2 separate regions of the Homo sapiens genome follow, and region 1 is linked to region 2. Evidence: promoter capture Hi-C in 16 types of primary human blood cells and fetal thymus (Javierre and others, 2016). All regions are on one chromosome and are shown on one strand. The core of a region is centred on a gene start or on the middle of the fragment in contact, and the rest is flanking DNA. Distances in the headings are between cores, read along the strand shown.

The links. Contacts are between HindIII fragments. The CHiCAGO score rates a contact against its expected background, and 5 or more counts as called.
Region 1: a contact is called between the fragment with the promoter of OR8B4 here and the fragment with the promoter of OR8B2 in region 2, in 1 of 17 cell types (neutrophils). The highest score is 7.1, in neutrophils.

What each region holds. Positions count from the first base shown.
Region 1 is chr11:124,421,178-124,426,529 of GRCh38, forward strand. It overlaps OR8B4 (olfactory receptor family 8 subfamily B member 4), which reads right to left and starts at 3,694. Exons shown (of 1, transcript NM_001005196.1): 1 at 2,765-3,694. The coding sequence starts at 3,694. The coding sequence ends at 2,765. The HindIII fragment of the contact is 2,701 bases long and covers 2,156-4,856 here.
Region 2 is chr11:124,380,623-124,386,026 of GRCh38, forward strand. It overlaps OR8B2 (olfactory receptor family 8 subfamily B member 2), which reads right to left and starts at 3,877. Exons shown (of 2, transcript NM_001005468.2): 1 at 3,752-3,877; 2 at 1,772-2,738. The coding sequence starts at 2,721. The coding sequence ends at 1,780. The HindIII fragment of the contact is 13,920 bases long and covers 1-5,404 here.

The DNA of each region.
Region 1 (5,352 bases), core at 2,444-4,943, 40 kb after region 2:
TGAAATCTCTAGCTAGAAAGAAGAGAAAAAAGATGGAGAGAGAGACTGAGTGCTTGATGACTCAGCACTGTCAAATCAGTCCTGGACTGCCCACCTCTGGATGCCGTTTATGTTGGAGGACAATAAACACTTATATGTTTCAGCCACTGCAGTCAGACTTTGGTTACCAGCAGCTGAAGTGGTTTGTAAATGATACATTTCTGCTGTGGAAGTGTGAGGGGAGAAAGGGCACTACGCATCTAAGCTAAGAGTTAACGCTGAGTCTGCCACGGACATCCTCTCATCTGCCTCTTGAGCACAGGGAAACCACGTCCTTTTCCTTCCAAAGATCCACTGGAAGTTCTCCTTGTACTCTCGCTCTTCCTACTTGGAGGGTCACTTACCTATATTCTCCCACATGGTTAGAAATGTGAGAGACAACAGTTTACTCCTCCTGATACTCCAAAACTATGTCATCACTTAATCGTTAAACAATTCTATTTGAACATCAATGTTAATAAGACTTGCGTGTTTCCAGTTTACAACTGATTACAGATTCTGATTGTAGCTCAGGGTCAGAGTTATAGATTTGAAAGTCACCATCAAATGCGTGGTTGTTGAAGTCACCTGAGTCAGAGAAATGCCTCAGGAAGAGCCCAGAAGAGAAGGAGACCAAGAACTGAACCTAGAGGAATCTCAACCTTAAGGATGCTTCCTAAAGAGAAAAAAGTAGCCTTGCTAGAAATTAAAACGTCATGACGTGAGGAGATGATGGAGTCGTGGTCTTGTGACAGAAGGACTCATTTAGGACAGATCTGACACTCAGTTTCAACTTACTTCTCTGTTACTGTAATGCCACAGCCCTCAACCCTCCTTCTATTTGTTTAACACTGTGAGAACAAACAATTCCTTAACGTCAACCCAAAACAATATGCAAGATGACCCATCCTTGGTTTGAGACAGAAGTGCAGGCCTTCTGAATTTATTTAATGTTGCATTTTCTGTGGAAGCAGTAGATGCTCTTATTTGGCTTTACAAGAGCCAAGAAAAGTCTCTCTGAGTTTTTGTCATGTAAGATCCTCAGTCAAAAAGGAACTTCTTTCCAAAAGAGCCAAGCCAGTGTCTCATTAAGTCAAACATACTTTCACGGCTACTCACCCCAGTGCCAATATGGAGTGAATGCAGGGAAAGTTATTCTTGGACTTTGATGCATTGATTACATAATTGTTCCTTTCCATTCATATCCTATGCCCTGACTTAGTTCTTGTTCCCGCTCATTTATACCAATGGTAATTGTTTTTTTTTCTTTATCCGTATCAAAGTAGATTTACTTTTGTCCTTCCTTATTCTTGATTCTTTTCTAATATCCCAAGACCCCCATGGACCTAGACACAGACAGTCCACTGGAGGGTGGGATTCAGCAAGGCCCAGAGGACTGACCAGCAGTGGTTGAGTAAGGTATTAAATCAATTCCAATGAATGAATTAATATATTTAAGGTACCTCAAATGGTGCACAAACACATGGTGCAAGTTCAGTAACTGTTAAGTGTCATTATTATCATAATCAAAGCATAATCCAAGTATCAGAGTTTTTCTCCTCCAAAGATCTTCCTCTAGCAGATTTGGAGAAGATAGATAGAGTTTGTCTCACGTCTCCTGTTGGTCAGACCTGTGCTGCAGTTGCTTCTCTGCCCTGCTCTCAGCTCTCCCTCAGAATGTCTCCTGGCCACGAGCTGGAGCACTGAACTCTTCAATGTAGAACAGCAGAACCTTTAGCAGAGTAATACAGAGTGGTCTTTGGCACTCAAAATCCAGATCCCTTCCAGACTCCCTGAGAGTGGGACGTGTAATATGACTCCTCTTTCTTTCCGATTCTATATTGATTAACTGTAATACACATACAGACACACACACACACACACACACACACATATAAACATGCACACACGTTGTCAGAACTGTAAAATCTAAATCCACTTTAAAGAATAAGCAATCTTCCTAAAATCCAGTAGTGTGCTTAGTATCTCCAGAGCAAGGCAGAGGCCACATTTTACAGATCATGCAAATCCGTGGAGTTCTTCCTTGTTTCTTCTTCCAGCCTGAGTCTCCGGAGCCTAAGAAATTGGCCCAATTACACAGGATCACTTACCCCTGATTACCATTCCAAGGCCCAGAAGCTTTAGAACTTTGAAATAAAAGATTTGGATTTGATTTATCCTTACAGAGCAGATCATAGAAAATTCTTGTGTGAGGGCTTCTTTTATGTACATACATGTATATGAAAAGGAGGGTTTATGATCTTCCTGACCAAGCAACCTCCTGAAGAGCTGGATATATAATCATATTAGCACTGGCACCAAGGTATCTACCATTGATCTTTAATAAGTCTGCTTATGTAACTAAAGAGAAAACACTCCTCAACCTTTATACCACCACCTGCCCCTTGTTCCAGCCAGAAACGTTCTTGCTCAGAAAAACCCATTTAGCCTACCAAGAAAAGAATGGAAGGCATGGAGCCTCATCTTACTCATCTCTTGGGCCTAATACAGAGTTCAGTAAACAAAAGGCATTTCATAGACACTAACTTGCAGGCAGTGAGCCAATTTAATTGTTGCAAAATAATATAGTCCTCAAGGAGAGTATAGGAAAGAGATTTCCAATTTTTAAAAGTGGAGAGGAGACCCTCTTTGAGGAAAAATATTAAAATTCCTCCGCCTATAAATAGAAAGACACTTGAGTATCATGCTTACCGAGAATCGGTTGCCAGTGATATGAAGAGACCCATTAGAAGAGCACTCTCTTCAGGGTTTTGCCCAGGGCAAGTTTATCATCCTTATTCCTCAAACTGTAGATCGAAGGGTTAAGCATGGGAACCACATTGGTGTAAAAGACTGAGGCAAATCTGCCATGGTTCATAGAGCCAGGAAAAGATGTTGTTAAGTAGGTGAATGTCCCTGACCCAAAAAACAGAGCAACAGCAATTATGTGGGAGCCCCATGTGCTAAAGGCTTTGGATCTGCCCTCTGCAGAAGGAATACAGAGGATGTTGGAGAGTATCAAAGCGTAAGAGATGACGATGCTTATGCTGGATAGCATGGTGATTACTCCAACAACAATGAAAAATACCAGCTCACTGACATGGGTGCTGGTGCAGGAGAGCTGCAAGAGGGGGAGAACGTCACACAGATAATGGTCAATGACGTTGGAATCACAGAAGGTCAGTCGCAGCATGCTTCCAGTGTGGGCCATGGCCCCAGCAAACCCTACCACATAGGAACCAAACATCAGCAGAAAGCAGACCCTTGGGGACATGGTGACCATGTAGAGCAGGGGGTTGCAGATGGCCACATAGCGATCATAGGCCATTGATACCAACACATAGCACTCAGAATTGACAAAGAAACAGAAGAAAAATAGCTGAGTCATACATCCCACATAAGAGATGATACTTTCTGAAACAAAGTCATTCAGCATTTTGGGGGTAAACACACAGGAATAACAGAGATCTATAAAGGACAAGTTGAAGAGGAAAAAGTACATGGGGGTGTGAAGGCTAGGATTTATCCCAATTAAGGTGATCAAGCCCAAGTTGCCCACCACAGTGAACACATAGATCCCTAAGAATAGAAGGAAAAGAGGGAGCTGGAGCTCTGGCTGTTCTGATAATCCCACAAGGATAAACTCAGTCACTGAGGAGCTGTTTCTCAGAGTCATTCTCTCTTGGCGAGCTGTCTGGGGAAGCAGAGGGCAAAACACAAAGAGTCATGACAGGCACAAGCATGGCTAAGGGAAGAAGACTCTAGTGGACCAGCCAGTGTGCAGATGCCCTCTCTTCCATCCTCCCTCATCTACACACCTCCCCACCCTGAGGTATTAACAACGTGTCTGTGAGAGGATCTCAGCTCTGCTGGGCCGATCATGAATTCAAGCTAGCATCTGTTACCATGGGCAGCAAGAATTCCGTCTCTGCTTGAGAGATGACGAGGGAGACAACACACCTGAATTGGCTGCCCAGGGACTCTCAGAAAGACACCCTGAGAACCAAGAGTACAACCTGGGCCGCTGCCTCAAGAGCTGAGAGACCAGAGCTCTCAAGGTCACCAGGATGCCCTCCCATTCTCTGCCTCCGTCTCCCAACTAGATAGTGGATTTCCATCTGGAGAGAAAGCCAAGAGTGTTACCTGCTGGCTCTTTACATCCCACCCGCCTCCTCGAAGACCCTCCATTCCATCTCACCTCAGGGTCAGTGTTGAGAGCAGAGACGGGATCCATACTTCCCAGAGCCCTTGGTTGTGGGTTTCAAAGAGACCATCAGGAAAGACAGGATTCGGACCTTCACCTTCCTTCTCCCGGGCCCCACTCAGTGCTGGGCCTTACGCCATCTCTTTTTCCATTAGCCAGAAAGAGAAAATGGTGCTGCTTGTGCAGAAAGCACACAGCCTTGCGTATTACCTCTTTTGACTCCCTTGGTGCTGAGAATCAGAGCTTTTACAGACCCCAGGCTCCAAGGTGCTCAAGGAATAGACCATGGTTTCTGTTTGTGGATTTTCCCAGGTGGTCTTGACAACTTCAGGAAAAAAAACTAGGAACTCTCATTTTGACCAGAACCCCAGCTGTCATATCACAGAGGAATTTAAGCTGCTTGACGATCTCAGGGACCTGATTAGACACAGTTTCCCCTGGGAATTTCTCCAAGATCTGTCTCTATAGGGAAGGAATTGCACTGTCTTTGTTTACAGCCTGGATAACGGTGCTTACCTAGCATCTTGGGAGTGGGGGTTCCACTCAAACTTTCCCTCTACTCCAGGGATTTCATGTTATTCAGTGCTGAGTTTGGGGACTCATTTTTTCCTTTCTCATTAACTCTCAGAGCCTAAGCTTGAATTTAAGAGTGAATAGCCCCAACCTAAGCCACCATCTCCAAATCTTCACAGGGAGCTATGAGAGTAGGACCCCTCAGAAAAGGTCAGATCAGATCTACAGAGAGCACCTCAGATAAAAGGCTTCTTGGACCATGCGCTGCTCAGAACAGAAACCACACCACCTCCACCACAAACACCACCTACTCGCAGCTCTAATAAGGGCCGCAGACAGGCCTTTACTATATATGAAGAGATTAAAATATCACAACACATATGCTAGAAAGCACACACACACACACACACACACACACACACACACACACACACCCCTACACAGAGTTACTCTCTAGGCATGCAGGCTTAAGGTATAATGGGAGATGGATGTAAGGGTCTAATCCTGCCATTATTCAGATGACAAAGCTGCTCTCCATATGATCTGCTAGATGAATATTTTAAGAAAAATTCAAAGACATGGGAGCATCTGCATTTGTAAGTTTCACTAAGGCTACC
Region 2 (5,404 bases), core at 2,627-5,126:
AAAAAAATGGAAAGATCGGTTAGGAAAATCTCAGACCATAGAGCAGTTCTAAAAAGTCTTGGTCAGGAGGATAGGAAGTCTCTAAACAAAGATTTCCTATCAGAAAAGACATATGTTAGATGGAAATTGCCAGCTCTCTTTAAGTCCCACCCACCCTGCTGAGTCATTGGTGGAGGGCATCTCAGAGTAAGAATGGACTCTGCCTAAACACCATGGTGGATCCAAAGAAGTGCAGCTATAGACTTTCAGTCAGCTATGCACCCCACTGCTGGGTCTCTTCATGGGGAGCTGAGCTGTTCTTCTCTGAGACTACCACACTCCACCTCCAAAAATATAAATTAAACCCCAAAGCTGTTCAGATTTATAATTGTCATTATTTTTGTATGTTATTAATTATTAATTAAAATAATACATTTATTATTGGTGTAAGAAGCAAGGTACTCCAATTCAGCCAGGCACAGTGGCTCACACCTGTAATCCCAGCACTTTGGGAGGATGAAGCAGGAAGATTGTTTGAGGCCAGGAGTTAAATTTTTTTCTCCAAATATTTAAAAATTAGGGAGGCATGATGGTGTGTGCATGTACTCCCAGCTACACAGGATGCTGAAGAAGTCCTCTACCTCATGCTGTACACAAAAGTTAATCTAAAAATGGACCAAAACCATACACACACAAAAAACTTAAACTATAGGCTGAAGTGGAAGAATTACTTGAGCCCGGGAGTTGGAGGCTGCAGTAAGCTATGATCGAATCACTGCACTCCTATCTGGGTGACAACCTTTATATAAAATGTGTTTCATGTCTTATTGGTGAGATAAAGTTTAAGTAGGCTCACAAAATATTTGTAGAAATATAGTTTATTAATATTAATATACATTCCTTATGATAAACCACACTGGATAAGGAAAATGTTGTATAAAATATTTCTACTAACAATGTGCAGTATTTACCTATAATGAGTAAAAAATAACATTTACAGTAGGAACTACATGCTTTTTTTCAAAATTTTCAGTGCTGTTTTAGACAGTAATAAATGAAGTTTTATAATGTAAACTATATTCCCCCTTATTGGAATCCTGAGGTGCACATGTATTATTTCTCTAATCATCCTCTGTTAATGCTGCCTTTGGCAATAAAAGGTGGAGATACACATATTCTCTGCTGTATCAAATGGACTGGAATGATAGAGGTTCTCAAAAGCAAACGGCATGTGGTACAAATTTTGCCATTCTCAAAGGGAACAAGAAAAGTCAGAATAATAAAAGGCAAAATGGTGACAACATAGAACAAAAGGACAAGATCAAGGGGAACTGATTCTGCTTTAAATTACCTACCATTTGTAGTGGATATATTTCATCAAATCCAGCTGCCTATATCTGTAACAATGTTGATAAAAATAAGAATGCTTCTATCATATTTGGCACTTCTGTGTTTAGGTGAGAAAGCTGTGACTTTGACATTTTTATAATTCATGAAATTTACCACATTTTTCCAATTAAGAATAGCCCAGGAGAGAGGAAAGGTAGAAAATGATGAAGAAAAATATCAGTGCATATGTTCCCTTTACAAATATGCCATGACCTCTTTAGTAATATTGCGAGAAGTGCCAGAGATGCAAAAACAAAAAAGAAGACACAAGATGATCTCATAAGAGAAATGATAAGACAAGTTTATTAAATCACACATAACACCATCTGTAGAAACAACAAAATCTCTTCATGAAAAACACTAATAAAAATTTGAAGTCCTTCAATTGTTTTACATCATTACTGCTTCTAATTAGAATATATTTCTCCTCTGAATTTTAATCAGAGCTTTCCTCAGTGCAACTTTGACATCCTTGTTCCTCAAACTGTAGATGAGGGGATTGAGCATGGGCACCACATTAGTGTAGAAAACAGAAGAAACTTTTCCCTGCTCCATAGATCCAGAAGAATATTTAATATACATGAATGCCGCTGACCCAAAAAACAGAGACAGAGCAATGACATGAGAGCTACAAGTACTGAAGGCTTTTGATCTTCCTTGAGTGGATTTGATATGAAGAATGCTAGTGACAATGAAAACATAAGAAATGAGGATGGTACAACTGGGTACCGTGATATTAGTACCCACAACAATGAGAACAACCACCTCGTTGACATAGGTGCTGGTGCAGGAAAGCTGGAGGAGGGGGAGTATGTCACACAAGTAATGGTTGATGATATTAGCACTGCAGAAGGTGAGTCTAAGCATGCACCCGGTGTGGGCCGTGGCTCCAGCCAATCCCATTATGTAAGCAGCAAAAGTGAGCATAGAACAGACCTGATGGGACATGGTGACCTTATACAGCAATGGATTACAGATGGCCACATAGCGATCATATGCCATTGAAGTCAACATGTAACATTCAGAGATGACGAAAAAGAGAAAGAAAAACAGCCGAGTCATGCACCCAACATTGGAGATAATATTCTTTTTTGACACAAAGTTCATTAGCATTTTGGGAGTGAAAACAGAGGAGTAACAGAGATCAATGAAGGAGAGATTGAAGAGGAAATAGTACATTGGTGTGTGGAGGTGAGAATTTAGACCGAAAAGAGTGATCAAGCCAAGGTTGCCTACCATGGTGACAATGTAGATCACTAGAAACAGGAAAAAGAGGGGTTGCCGGAACTCTGGATGATCTGTTAATCCAGCAAGAATAAATTCAGTCACTAAGGAGTTGTTTCTAGCCAGCATTTTTTGTCTTCAAAAATCTGGGAAGACAAAAGAAAATTCTATTAGGAACACAGATTTCTTTTTACAAAATCTCATTAATGAGGAGGGGACTCAGGCTGTAGGAATTTGGGTGAGTTCTTTGTTTCATGGGATCTGAATGTACTGAATGTACTGCCACTCCCACTCCTCAACATTTCAGTCAGTGTCTTTTGTCTGTACAGACTGAATGTGACAAACAATTGCTCCTGTCCTTACTAGAAGACACAGAGGTGGAGTAGCTGAGGCACAGGCCTACCTGCTGTTGAGCTTGGGTTATATGGATGTGTCTCATCTCCCTCACTTCCATCTGTCCCTTCACTTCCTAGTTTCTACTTATGTTTCCATTATTCTACTAGACACTTCAATTTCCCTGTGATGACCACCAGGTAAGGGAGGATTCCTTTAGGGCGGAGACCATACTGATATTCTGTTTCCTAGACAGGGGTCTCCTATAGGGTTTCTAGATACCTTACTATAAGAATCCATGAAGTCACCGGGTGATAAAAGAAGACCCTTAGTAGTCGAGGCCTTATGATTCACCACATACAAATCACATAAGTGTTTCTACACATTCTCCTCTATTCCATCCTAGCTAGACAGAGGATGAAGAAAGGAAGCTGAATGTGCTTTCACAGGTCTTTGTAGGAAGGCATAAGGGAAACATAATTAATTTGGGTACAGTTATATTAGTTGTTAAGTTTGTAAAATTTTACCAAACTGGTATTTTTATGACCCTTAAACTCTTCTATATGTATAGCACATGTCAATATATTTTTAATAAAGAGACAAATCTCCTTTCCTGGCATTCCTCTGTTCTGGATGTGTCACTTGGAACTGCTATTGCTATCCTGATACCAGGCTGAGAATGAAGCCAACAGAGAGAACAGTGTGAGAAAAATGCAAGCCCGAGAGTCAGAGCTCCATACCACTAAGTTTCTTGCTATTGAATAAATACTTTTCCCCATTTTTCAGCAACATCCAGGAGAGAGAAATAGAAACTTGATTAACTCACCTTCCTTCCACTCAGAGAACTCAGTGCTGACCATTGATATGTGTTTCACCTCCACTGCCCTGGAGGTAGAACTGGTGGTGAAGGTATCTACGTTGACCACATGTAGTCAAAGAATCTTCTTCTCCCTTACCTGGCAAAAGCATTGAGCATAGATCTCAGAATCTGAATGTTCTGGGAATCATTCTGAGGTGTAGATCAAACTATTTATAAATTTGCCAAGAGGGTTTGTTAGAAAATCAGACTTCACACCAGACCCACCATGTCCACCGTCATAGAGACATGGCATTTGCTCAAGGCTCATAATTCTTAGACCTGATTACATACCAACAGTAAGTCTCTCTCAGGACCTCCCCTACCATGACACACTCTGCAGGGAAGAAATTATATGCCTGTGTTTACAGCCTAACTTGTTGTTGTAGATGTAAACTTTTCATCAGGGATTATACAATCCACAGGGCATAGGAGAAAGAGCCTCTGCTGTCATGTATAAAGATGTAAACATAAAGATTGTCAGAATTTTTGCTAATTATAATTATCGGCAGTGTTAGCTTTAACAAGTATGTATGTATAATTTAGTAAAGTTTATTGCTATGCTCATTTTTAATATTGTGAGTCCTTTTAAATAATCCATTTTTAGTTTTGCATACTTTATAGGCAAAAAGAAAAGAAAAAGAATAAAGAAAAGGATACTTTTAATTGATTTCAGATTTTTTAAATAAAATTTTGTGTAACATAGAATGATCCTTTATTTCATCAAAATTTAATTATCTTGGGTTGCTCTAACTCAACATGTCTTTGCCTTTAACAGGTTAAAATCAAATCTGTAAGAAAAATCACTAATCATGTGCCCTCATTTTAAGACAGTATGACTTCAGAATTTCCCGGTAGGTAGGAATTTGTGCTTGTGAGAAGGCATCTATATTTTTTACCTTTTTATTTTAAAATTATTAGAATCACAAGAAGTGGCAAAAGTATATGTAGATTCCCTTGGACACTTCACCCAGCTTCCTCACACAGAGACATCTTCCACAACTGTAGGACAATAGCAAAATCAGGAAACTGACATAGGTTCAATAATGTTAAAGAAACTACAGACCTTATTCAGCAATTTAACATGCGTGTGTGTGTGTGTGTGTGTGTGTGTGTGTGTCTGTGTGTGTGTGTAGATCTATGCAGTTGAATCCTATGTACCTATTTATGTAACAAAAACCTAAGTCAGGATACAGAATTCTTTCTTTTTTTTCTTTTTCTCTCTCTCTCTTTTTTTTTTTTTTAAAGACAGGGTCCTACTCTGTCACCCAGGCATGAGTGCAGTGGTGCAATCACAGCTCACTGCAGCCTCAACCTCCAGGACTCAATAGATCGTCCCACCTCAGCCTCCCAAGTAGCTGGCACTACAGGCACATGCCACCACACCTGGCTAATTTTTTAATTTTTTGTAGGGATAGGGGGTCTCACTATGTTACCCAGGCTGGTCTTGAACTCCTGGTCTCAAGAAACCCTCCTGCCTCAGCCTCCCAAAAGTGTTGGGATTACAGGCATGAACCACCATGCCTGGCCTCTAATTAATTCTTAAACAGACTTTTAAGCATTCCATTTGTTCTGCCCCATCCTCACTTCTTCCAGAAATATCTGCTGTCGTGAAATTGTGAG